Linked DNA regions of Homo sapiens: region 2 is linked to region 1. The links are contacts of gene promoters, found by promoter capture Hi-C in blood cells and fetal thymus (Javierre and others, 2016). All regions are on one chromosome and are shown on one strand. Each heading gives the region's core, a stretch centred on a gene start or on the middle of the fragment in contact. The rest is flanking DNA. Distances are from core to core; before and after follow the strand shown.

Region 1 (6,218 bases), core at 2,157-4,656:
GAACCTCCACTCCAGCCACCTTGAACTGCTTGCAGTTGCACCAGTGTGTGACAGTCCTGGCCCCCTCGTCTAACTCAGTGTCTCCCCATGGGGTCTCCATACATCCTGCAGCACCCTTTATCATGGCACTGACTGCATCATTTAGGGTGCCCCTCCAAAGTGGGGGATGGTGACGATTCTATCTTCTGCTCCTGGTGCAACGCCTGGCTCTTGACATGTGAGATAAACATATTTTATAAATTAAAGATGGAAAGGAACTTTTTCTCAGAGTTTTCCTGGGTTGGGGGTGGGTGGGAATCTCGAGGTTATAATGCATCCCATTGTATTTTGTAGAAAGGACAAATCCCCGAGGATTTTCATGGGTTCCAATGGAGCCTCGGATTTTCTAGGTTTGCTTGAGCGACTCATCACCAGCCTCTCCATTTGCTGTGAGGAGTGGACCAACCATCTGCCATCCAGGAGCTGATGACTGCAGAAACCTGGGCATCATTGCCTGCCAAGTTTAAGAAAAATAAGATAGAGAATTGGAGTGACAGCTGTCCGGGTGCTGAGAGTCAAAGCTGATGATTTCCCTTAGTATTTTTGTCTGTGCCTTCAACAGAAGCACCATGCTAAAACACTGTTGTGCTGCACAGCTGAGAATCTGGCATTTGTTGTGGGTGGAAGGCAGTGACCAAAGGTGGAGGCAGTTTGGGGAAGGTCAGTCAGTATTTCACGTTGTTCCTGGGGAAATAATCACAGAGACAGCCAGTCAGAAATGAGGCTGGTCCCCCTCTTCCCTGGCCTCCTGCCCCTTGGATTTGTTGGCACTTTGGCTGCCAACAGATTAATGAAATCTTTTCAATCCTGAAAGAAATGACAACCTCATCAGGAAAAAAGTGTATTTTCAGCATTAGATGGAAGATAATATCAAGAAACAAAATCTTTTCCTATGTAAGAGCTTTAATACTTACCTTGTGCAAAATGTTGTGAGTTAATATCGTGGTTTCAGGGGAACAATTTTTCTCCTCAAATCTTTAGAGTTATTTCCAGAATTTCAAAGCCTATTTCAAAAACTATAGTTTTGTCTAAAGTACAATCAGCTCTGTGAATGGAAGGGTTGCGGAAGGGAGAGTGTTCACACTGAGAGATGAGATAGTTATCTGCTTCCAATGCCAATGCATAACATGAATGCTGTCGAGTTTTTTTTAAAAAAGCTTGAGATTTGTAATGCCAAAAAAAAAAACCTCTAATGATTTTTTTAAAAGTTGAAACAAGATGAATTTAATTACTGAGCTGCTCACAATAACTAGGAAACAATTCCTCTGTTATAAATTGTATTTATGTATTTTTCCCATGCAAAAAGTACAGGAATTATGAAACACAAATGATTAGAATTGTACGTTAGATTTACATAGTGAATCTGAATAGAAATAACTCCTTTTCTTGGATAATAATATTTTACTTTAAATTAGGTTGTTATACTATTAAAGGAATCCAGATATATAAAGTTGTTATATTTTTCATCACAAAAGTATTTTTTAATGTAAAAAATTGTCACACTGTGTTTCATTATAAGGATTCATAAATTTGCCTCTTTTATTTTAATTTTTTACAGCTCTTTTTGAAGTACATTTTTTTTCTTTGAGACAGGGTCTTGCTCTGTTGTCCAGGCTGGAGTGCAGTGGCATGAATTTAGGTCAGCACAGCCTGGAACTCCTGGGCTCAAGCGATTGTCCTGCTTTGGCCTCCCAAAGTGTTGAAATTACAGTTGTGAGCCACTTCGCCTGGTCCAATTGCCTCTTTTAAAAAGAATTGTGTTTAGAAAAAGTGCTTGTTCATACCTGTTGAGGAGCACAGCTATCAGGAGAGCAAATGATTTTTTAAAAATATTTATTTATTTATTTATTTTTATTATTTTTTATTTTCTGAGACGGAGTCTTGCTCTATCACCCAGGCTGGAGTGCAGTAGTGCGATCTGCAACCTCCACTTGCTGGATTCAAGTGATTCTTGTGCCTCAGCCTCCTGAGTAGCTGGGATTACAGGCATGCTCCACTTTGCCCGGCTAATTTTTGTGTTTTTAGTACAGACGGGGTTTTGCCATGTTGCCTAGGCTGGTCTCGAACTCCTGACCTCAGGTGATCCACCCGCCTCGGCCTCCCAAAGTACTAGGATCAAGGCGTGACGACTATGCGTGGCCACAAATAATTTTTAAATCAATATTTAGAACACATTTAGGGTGAGTGTTTAGAGCTTGACAACTTTCTCATTGAAGATTATTCCGTTTAAGATTCAACAGCTCAAGAGTCTGCAAATCTAGATCCTTAACCAGAACTTGCTTTTATATCTTTTCCTTACAAGAAGAATACCCAGGCTGGGACTTCAAGGCCCCAGAGAGGCAGTGCAGCAAGTTCCTGGGTTCAAATCATCCTTCAGCTACTTCTTAGCTGTGAGACCTTGGGCAAGTTACCTAGCCTTTCTATGCCCCAGTTTCTTCATCTGTAATTTGGGGCTAGTAATCTCTTCTTCATAGGTTTGTTGCAAGATTAAATTAATTTACATTAAGGGCCAGGTGTGGTGACTCATGCCTGTAATCCCAGCACTTTGGGAGGCCAATGCGGGCAGATCACCTGAGGTCAGGAGTTCGAGACCAGTCTGGCCAACATGGCAAAACCCAGTCTCTACTAAAAATACAAAAAAATTAGCTGGGCGTGTTGGCGCACTTATAATCCCAGGTACTGGGGAGGCTGAGGCAGGGGAATCTCTTGAACCTGGGAGGTGGAAGTTGCAGTGAGCCAAGATCACGCCACTGCACTCCAGCCTGGGCGACAGAGCAAGACTCCATCTCCAAAACAAAACAAAACTAATTACTTTAAGAATTAGAACAGTTTATGACTGGTACATAGTAGATCCTCATTAGACACTAAAAATTATAATTACAATTGTTAATTATAATTATTTATTATTATAATTATATGAGCAATTATAGGAAAGCTCTCACTCTTTCTAAAGAATTTGCGTGAATAAAGGAAGACTAATTTTCTCAATGTCTTTTTAGTACACTCAGAATTTTCGGTACAGCAAATAATTTTCAGTGAAGTCAAAATTATTTAGATAAAGTCTTCTCTTCGTGCCCTAGCAGAAAATGTTCAGAAACAAAATGAAATAAAGAGACAAAGGAAAAAAAAAACTGGCAAAGGGTCAGGTTTTGAGAATTGTTTTCAAGAAGTCATTGTATTCAGATTGGTGGAGCAGGCTACTGTAAACCGTAAGTAGGAAATGAGAACCCGTTGTAAGTTGATAAAATGGATGTCTTTTCAACTAAACAGATTGCTATCAGCCTAACAGAGCCAACTCATGTTCCTTTTCGGCCGGTCATTTCCTGTACTAAGTGTCTATAAGAGCCGCCCATTTGGGTGTTTCTCAGGATTATAGGTTTTTAGGTCACGCAGAAACCCTGGGGAACGCCTGAAAAGGCTAAACACAAGCAGTTACATTATGCACAAGCTGGATGACGTGACCCCGCTGCTGCTGTGTGGAGAGGGAGGCTGCTGAACCCGAGCTGGTGTGAGCTTCTCTTGCCGTAAGTCCACGGGTGGCCAGGAGCACGTGTTAGTCTGGTTAAGAGCTCTGCTCAGAAGTAGCCGCTGCAGCTGAAGGTTTTCAGGCGGGCTGAAGGCTGGGCCGCTTCTTCATTCATTTCAGAAACTTGAACAGTGGGCCTTCTACACACGCTGTCTTTGTCAGCCTCAGGCAGTTCCTCCATGGATGAGACACAGGGGCCTCTGGCCATGACTGTCCATCTTCTTGCCAACTCTGGGCACGGCTCCCTTCTGCAGAGGACTCTGGACCAGCTCCTGGATTGCATTTGCCCAGAGGTCCGGCTCTTTCAGGTGTCTGAACGGGCCAGTCCTGTGAAATACTGTGAAAAGTCCCATTCCAAGCGGTCCCGGTTTCCAGGGATGTCCGTGTTGCTCTTCCTGCACGAAAGCCCGGGAGAGGATAGGCTATTTCGCGTCCTGGACTCTCTCCAGCATTCGCCATGGCAGTGCTACCCCACCCAGGACACTCGGGGAAGGCTGTGTCCCTACTTTTTTGCCAATCAGGAGTTCTACAGCCTGGACAGTCAGCTGCCCATCTGGGGGGTGAGGCAGGTGCACTGTGGCTCCGAGATCCTGAGGGTGACGCTGTACTGCAGTTTTGATAACTATGAAGACGCCATCAGACTCTACGAGATGATCCTGCAGAGAGAAGCGACCTTGCAAAAGAGCAATTTTTGTTTCTTCGTGCTCTATGCCTCCAAGAGCTTTGCTCTGCAGCTCTCCCTGAAGCAGCTGCCCCCGGGAATGTCAGTGGACCCCAAAGAGTCTTCGGTGCTGCAGTTTAAGGTTCAAGAGATCGGCCAGTTAGTGCCTCTGCTACCCAATCCATGCATGCCTATCAGCAGCACCAGGTGGCAGACTCAGGACTACGATGGCAACAAGATTCTGCTTCAGGTATTTCTGTTTTGTCTCAGATCTTGTAGAGGCTCATGGAGCTGTGTAATTTTACATCGGAATGGGCCTAAGCTAGTGGTTCTCAGACTTGGTTGCATATTAGCGTCCCTTAGGGTCTTTCATAAATTCCCACCCCAGGGCAGTTTGATCCGAATCTCTGGGAACATCCAGGCCTAGGTAACTTTTTTACAGCTTCTTGGATGACTGTAATCTGTAACAGGGTTGAGAATCACTGATCTCATAAAATCTCATCTGACAGATAAGAAAGTTCAGATTCCATGAATTTGCAGCTGACACAAGTACTTTATAGTAGAATCAGACAGGATTCTACTATAAAGATCAGAATCCTATTAAAGAATCGGCCTCCTTTCTCAGGCTTGCCGTTTAAATGCCCATCAACTATACCCCTATCCTTTGTTTACTCTTTGGGCTCAGGAATGTCACAAGCTCTTCTAATCTGACTTAAGGAAGTTGAAGTCATACTTATGTTTAGATATGGTTTTTTTAATTTTTAATTTTTTTATTTTTTAGAGATGGGAGTCTTCCTCTGTTGCCCAGACTCGAGTGCGGTGGTGCCATCATAGCTCCCTGAGGTCTTCACCTTCTGGGTTCAAGTGATCCTCCTGCCTTAGCCTCCTGATTAGCTGGGACTACAGGCACGTGCCGCCATGTCTGGCTATTTTATTTTATTTCTAGAGACGGGGTCTCACTATGTTGGCCGAGCTTGTTTAGGGATGTTAAGTTTGCAGTACTATTGACTTAATTTTTATTCTTTATTATTATACTTTAAGTTCTGGGGTACATGTGCACAAAGTGCAGGTTTGTTACACAGGTATACATGTGCCATATTGGTTTGTTGCACCCATCAACTCGTATTGACTTAATTTTTAAGCATCTTGCATCACTGTCAAATTTTACCACATACCAAGTTAGATAGAATGCTTTCTTAAAAAAACTTGAAATTAAAGCCTTCCTTTGTAACCATCCTCGAAAACCTAACATAGCATGTGTGTATTTAGTCATGATAGCTGCCGTGCATTGCCTTTCCATGGTATGTGAGCCTGGGCACTTAGTAGCTGTATGACTGTGGGCCTCAGTTTCTTCATTAGCACAATAAAGGCACCCGAGAATTAGCATCTTCCTCTCTCATACTTACTTACAGGAAATGACCTGACACTTATAAAGTACATAATTAAGATAGTGCCAAGAACTCAATTTTAGCTATTATTGTTCATATTATGCCCTATACTAAGGATTCTCTTAAATTGATAATTTTATTTAATACTTATAACAACCTATGAAGTTACTATTTTTCCCATTTTGGAGATAAGAAAACTGAGCTTTCCAGGGGGTCAGTTATTTGCCCAAGATAGGAAGTATCTATCTACCCTCAAAGTTCATGTGGTCAGCCGCTGCAGTCCAGTGTATGTGTGTAAATGTGCAAGCAGGGGGATGAATGTCATGTTCACAGCAAAATATCCTGTGGCTTCTGTCCTTAAGAAATGGTCAGAAGCTCCTTAAGGCCTATTGAATAAAGTAATAAGAGACTACAAGATGAGATGTCTTTCCATTTGGTTAATTTTGTTGTCATCACTTTGACTTGTTAATAAAACATGAATCATATTCCATATTAAATGATTTCTAAATTATTCACCTTCTTGCTCACATAAGGTAGACAGGCACTGTTTCTGTTAGTTGCCTATTATAAAACCCCATAATTTCCAAGGCATCTAAAATTTCTT
Region 2 (6,218 bases), core at 1,227-3,726, 240 kb before region 1:
CAGATGAATTTTTTTCTTTCAAACTATTGCATATTTCGAACTATTTTGACCTTGTCTCTGTTGATATGTTGGGGCTGATCATTGTTGGGGGTCTTCCTGTACATTGTAGGATATTCTGAAACATCCCCAGTCTCTACCACTAGATGCCAGTAGCAAACGCTACCCTCAGTTGTGACAACCAAAAATGTCTCCAAACATTGCGAATGTCCCCTGGTGGTGGTAAAATTGCCCCCGTTAAGAACCACTCATCAACTGCTATTGTCCTATAACTTTTAAATAACAAATGTTTGATTCTCATTTTGAATATTAGTAATACATATTTAGCCTTCATTTTCCCCCCTGATTTTGTACCTTGCTTGTCTCTGCCCATGGATAGAAGACCATTATATAAGTATAGTAAAGTCTTAATTTGAGATTGTTGAGTTATGAAAACGATAACCAAATAGCTGTGTGATAATGCAAGTCATTAAAAGTGAAACTGAGCTATTGCATTGTATGTGCACCTGTTCCATAGTTCACTTTAGTGTGCTGAATTATATTACCTGACTCTGCTAGAGTCTTTCCACTTACACTCCCTCCAGAATGCCTGCATCAGGTAAGGCCCATAGAAGCCTCAAGACAAAAGCAAGTCATTGCCTAATTATGGATGATGCCATCGTTATGCACAGCAGGTGCAATTCAGGTCCCGGGAAGCCATAGGAATTGAACAATACTGCCTCTGTGTAACCTGATTGCCAAGGAAGTAAAAACAACCTGTATTCAAAATACAGATATCTGTGGCATTGGGGCCAGCCCTAGATTAGCTTGTCAAGTATGCCCAGGTCACCTTCGGTCACGGGCTTCATCTTTTCAGCATCCTTCTTGCTCCCAAGTCCAGTCTTTCTCCTGCCCCAGAGCAGCTTCTGAGGATCCACCCACCTGAGCCTGTCACTCCAGTGGTTCCTGGTGCTCTAACCATTCTCCCATGTATATTGACCTTTCTGGATCCTATTTCTGGCTGGTCTCACAAACTAATCTGCAGTAGTCTAGATCAGCATTTCTAAACTGGTGGTCTGTGGGTCAAGGCCACTCCCCTGAAACATACATTTCTTTAGCCAACAAGGTGTTTCTAAACTCTTTGGTTAAACTGCTAACATTAATAAACCCAGAAATCTCATCTATTAATAAAAATTTCAGATTTCCAGCTTCTCTGAAAGAATCTGCAAGTGATACTGCTGGTATTGAAATAGTTGGCCATAGCCTATTTTAACAGATCTGATTCTGATTGTGGACCCTTCATCGCAGAGCTTGCACCCTCATTTATTTGTGTGACCTGTCTCGCCCCTGTAGCCATCTGAGTGTGTGATCCTCTCATTTAGATCCCAGAGATTAGATTTGTGTGATAATGTTGTAATTATTTCTGGAACACAAAATCAGCAAGGATAATGGAGGATGTAATAAAATTTAACACAATAACTTTTTTTTCTTTTAGACTGAATCTCACTCGCTCTGTCACCAGACTGGAGTGTAGTGGCGCGATCTTTGCTCACTGCAACCTCCGCGTCCCGGGTTCAAGTGATTATTGTGCCTCAGCCTCCCAAGTAGCTGGGACTACAGGCGTGCGCCACCACGCCCGGGTAATTTTTGTATTTTTAGTAGAGAAGGGGTTTCATCATGTTGGCCAGGATGGTCTCGAACTCCTGACCTTGTGATCTGCCTGCCTCCGCCTCCCAAGGTGCTGGGATTACAGCTGTGAGCCACCACGCCCAGCCCCACAATAACTAACTTTTTAATGCTGTTAAAGTACTTTTCATGGACGTAATTATTTAAATAATAGACATTCATCAAGGGCCTCTTTTATCAACAGCTTTTTTTTTTTTTTGAGATGGAGTCTCGCTCTGTCACCCAAGCTGGAGTGCAGTGGCGTGTACTTGGCTCACTGCAAACTCCACCTCCTGGGTTCACACCATTCTCCTGCCTCAGCCTCCCAAGTAGCTGGGACTACAGGCGCCTGCCACCAAGCCTGGCTAAATTTTTTTTTTTTTTTTTTTGGTATTGTTAGTAGAGATGGGGTTGCACCGTGTTAGCCGGGATTGTCTTGATCTCCTGACCTCATGATCTGCCCGCCTCAGCCTCCCAAAGTGCTGGGATTACAGGCGTAAGCCACTGCGCCCGGCCTCAACAGGTATTTTTTAAGTGCTATAATCAAATACCAGTCACAGTTTAAAGCATTTCCCATAAAATATTTCATCCAATTCTCACAGCAACCATAACAAGAAGGTACCATTATTATTCTCTTATTGGGAATAAGGAAACTGAGGCACAGAGAGGGTAAGAAACTTGTTCCCATGTCCCACCACCCAAAATTCCAGATGGAAAGGAATTGAAAGGCCTGACTCCACACTCGAAGCCAAGCTTACCTGGGCTGTTTACTGCCTCTGAAATTAAGTCAATTCTCATAAAAACTCTAAGAAGCCATAATTATTACTACTCTGCCTTTCAGATGAGGGAATTAGAGCTCAGAGAATTAAGAAACTCTCCTGAAAGTACTTGTCAAAGCACTGCAGATGAGAAGCTTTTTACAGTTGACACCAGCTTCCCACAGAGTCAGCCCAAAGCCGCTAGGCTGGGGTTTCGGTACCACCAATCACCAATGGCTGCAGCATCCCTTCCCCAAAGACCCTAAACCAAAGGAGACATGCGTAGGGGTCTGCTCTGCTCTAGCCCCCAAACCTTGTTCAGGATCAGCACAGGCAGCCAGGATGGCATTTTTTGTTTGTTTGTTTTTTGAGACAGAATCTTGCTGTCGCCCAGGCTGCAGTGCAGTAGTGCCATCTTGGCTCACTGCAACCTCTGCTTCCAGGGTTCAAGTGATTCTCGTGCCTCAGCCTCCCGAGTAGCTGAGATTACAGATGTGCACCACCATGCCTGGCTAATCTTTGTATTTTTAGTAGAGATGGTGTTTCACCATGTTGGCCAGGCTGGTCTCGAACTCCTAACCTCAGGTGATCCGACAGCCTCGGCCTCCCAAAGCGCTGGAATTACTGGTGTCAGCCACCACGCCCGGCCTAGGATGGCATTTTCTATTCACCAAGCCAAGAAGTCACACCACCTGAAGGCAAGACCCATTGTCCAGGGCCCATGCCAAGCCAAATGAACTTGCCATGCCCTGGGAGGCTGCTCCTGTTCTACTGAGGTGCAGAAGAAGCAGAAGTGGGAGCCACGAGTAGAGTAGGAAAATGGGACAGTTGGAGGATAATTGAAGCAAAACTTACAAAGTAGTCCAACACATGTATCCATAAAGGAAAAATCCTAGAGGATTCAAGAAGTAATCAACCTCTCTTCTCTAATACCAACAAATCTATAGCCCAGTCTTGTTTCTCACTGATAATAGCATATACAGGACTGAGTGCATCTTGTACAATACAAGACACTGCTCCCTTTTAAAACACACAATGGAACATTAAGAGCGCCCTGGATTTCCCATCAACAAATGCTCAGCCAAAAGCCTGAAGTCATCCTTTATTCCTTCTGTTCTTTCACTCCTGTGTTTTATCCATCTGATAGATCCTATCAGCTCCTCTCCAAAATTTATCCCAAATCCATCCTCTTCTCTCCAGCTCAGCTGCTAGAAGCATTGGCCAAACCACAGTCACCTCTCACCAGGAGTATCGCATTAGCCCTCTCACTCATTCTTTTGCATGCTCCCTTGCCACCTTAACCTCTCCAGTCTCCTTTTCAAACAGCCAAATGAATACTCCCTGTAAAATATAAATCAAATCACATGGTTCCAATGTTCAAAACCCTCCTGTCACATTTACAATAAAGTTCAAATTTCTTGCCATGTCCTAGAAGACCCAATTTCCTTCTTCATCTTTACTCCACAAATGCTCTCGTTTGTCAAGCACCAGGAACCCTGACCTTCTTCCTGCTCCTCAAACCACACCAAGTTCATTTCACTTGCATACACTCTGCCTCCAACTCTGTTTTCCTGCATGTTTCTATTGCTGTTTTCTCTCTTCCCTCCTATTTCTTTTCTGATGTCTCCTCCTTAAAGGTTCATTCCCAGTCACAATTTCTAAGGTAGCCCTTCTTCATTGTCTCCCCTGCCTCATCCCTGATGACTCTGCCATCTCACACTGCCCTGTTCCTTTTTGTTTCCTTCACACTGAGAACTGTCTGAAATTCTCTAGTATACATATTTGCTTGCTGGTTTCTTGTTAGCCTTCTGCTAGAATGTAATCTCCATGAGAACACAGATGTTGTTCAGAGCTATGACCTCAGAACCTAGAACCAGGCCTGGAACAGAATAGTTGCTCAATAAATATTTGCTAAATGAAAGAATGAAATTATAAACTTACCATCATATTCCTAGCTTTAGGGAAGATTTAAAAAAACCAGTAAGAAAACAATGCTCAGTATATATTTTTTGAATGAAGTGATAAACTCACTATCATATTCCTAGCTTTAGGAAGATAAGAGTAAGAAAACAAAAGGAAATTAGAAAGTGTGGAAAGAAAACTTGTCATTTTATTTAAAGCGCCTACAAGGAGCTCAGCACAGTGCCTCAAATTAAGCCCCCAACAAACAGTACCTGTGTTTGTTGATACTACATGCCCACTGATTTACACGCACAATTGCATTTAATAATCTCATGGATCCTGTGAAATGGACACTAGTGGTCCCATTTTACAGAAAAGGAAGCTGAGGCTGAGAGTTTAAGTAACATGGGCCAAACAGCTAGAAAGTAACAGAACTGACCCCAAAGCCAGAGTTATTTTTCCTCCCACTGCTCTGTGGCTTTGACTGCTGTCTCTGAGATTCACTGACATGACGTTCCATCCTTGCACATTCTCCTACAAAAAAGTGGAGCTAAAAAGAACTTGTCCCCAGGGCCAGGCATGGGGCTAGCCAACATGGAGAAACTGCATCTCTACTAAAAATTAAAAAATTAGCCGGGCATGGTGGCGGGCACCTATAGTCCCAGCTACTCGGGAGGCTGAGGCAGGAGAATTGCATGAACCCGGGAGGCAGAGGCTGCAGTGAGCCGAGATCATGCCACTGCACTCCAGCCTGGGCGACAGAGAAAGACTCTGTCTCAAAAAAAAAAAAAAAAAAAGAACTTGCCCTCTATATCCTAGGCATGTGACCAAGGCAAGAAGATAACGCTAAAAAATTGTTTCAGCATCTTTGACAACAAAGTGACTCTTGATTACCTGGAATGCCGGAACGAATTGTGTCCACACTGATATAGTGAAGTCCAACAATGGAAGGCCTGTTGATGGATGTGTCCATTCCTGCTCATATCTGTATAAGATAACTTCTATATTTGCTGGTCTAGTCAGCCAATGACCTAGGATCCTAGGTTTCCCCATCAATTATGATGTGTTGGAAAAAGACCGTGATGTGGTCATACATAATGATTATAAACAAATTCACAAATTGGCTTTCCCATGTGAAGAACCATTATCAATAATCAATTTATTAAGGAATTTATTTTTTTAATTAAAAAAATAACACACTGGGAATGTAAAATGATATGACCCCTCTGAAAAACAGCTGGGCAGTTTCTTAAAAAAGACTACACATGCTCTTACGACATATCCTAGCAATTGCATTTATCCCAGATAAATAAAAACGTAAAGCCACACAAACTTGTACATGGTTATACACAGCAACTTGATTTGAAATAGCCAAAATACTATGACACATCCGCCCAGTGGAATACTACCCAGCAATAAAAAGAAATGAACTTTGGATACACGCAATAACTTGGAAGGATTGCAAAGGCTTATGCTAAGTGAGAAAAGCCCAATCTCAAAAGAGCACATACCATATGATTCCATTTATTTAACTATCTCAAAATGACAAGTTTATACAAATGGAAAATAGACCTGTGGTTGCCAGAGTTTAGGGGTTGGGAGAGGGGCAGGTAGCAAGAGGGATGGTGTGGGGAGGTAAGAAGAGGGCAGTCTTCCTGGTGATAGAATAGCCCCGTATCTTGACAGAGGTGGTTGTTACATGAGTGTGCACATGTGATAAAATGGCATTAAACTAGACACATACATTTTGCCAGTGTCAGTTTCTCAGCTTTGAGATTATACTGTAGTTATACAAAATATAACCATTGGGAGAACCTGAGTGACTTGTACAAGAGAACTCTCAGTACTATCGTTACAACTGCATGTGAATTTATACTTTCAAAACAAAAATTTCTGTAAAAGAATACCATGTTTAAG

The links. The method cuts DNA at HindIII sites, captures the fragments that hold promoters and counts their contacts. A CHiCAGO score of 5 or more calls a contact.
Region 2: a fragment that was not itself captured here is called in contact with the fragment with the promoter of FAM124B in region 1 in 16 of 17 cell types (megakaryocytes, fetal thymus, erythroblasts and 13 more); the score reaches 12.4 in megakaryocytes.

The regions. Positions count from the first base shown.
Region 1 is chr2:224,399,295-224,405,512 of GRCh38, reverse strand. FAM124B (family with sequence similarity 124 member B) reads left to right here and starts at 3,406. Exons shown (of 2, transcript NM_001122779.2): 1 at 3,406-4,476. The coding sequence starts at 3,745. The HindIII fragment of the contact is 5,745 bases long and covers 1,199-6,218 here.
Region 2 is chr2:224,640,385-224,646,602 of GRCh38, reverse strand. All of the region lies in intron 2 of LOC105373909 (a long non-coding RNA gene), which reads right to left. Among named protein-coding and RNA genes, the nearest start is that of CUL3, 58 kb to the right of the region's middle. The HindIII fragment of the contact is 160 bases long and covers 2,397-2,556 here.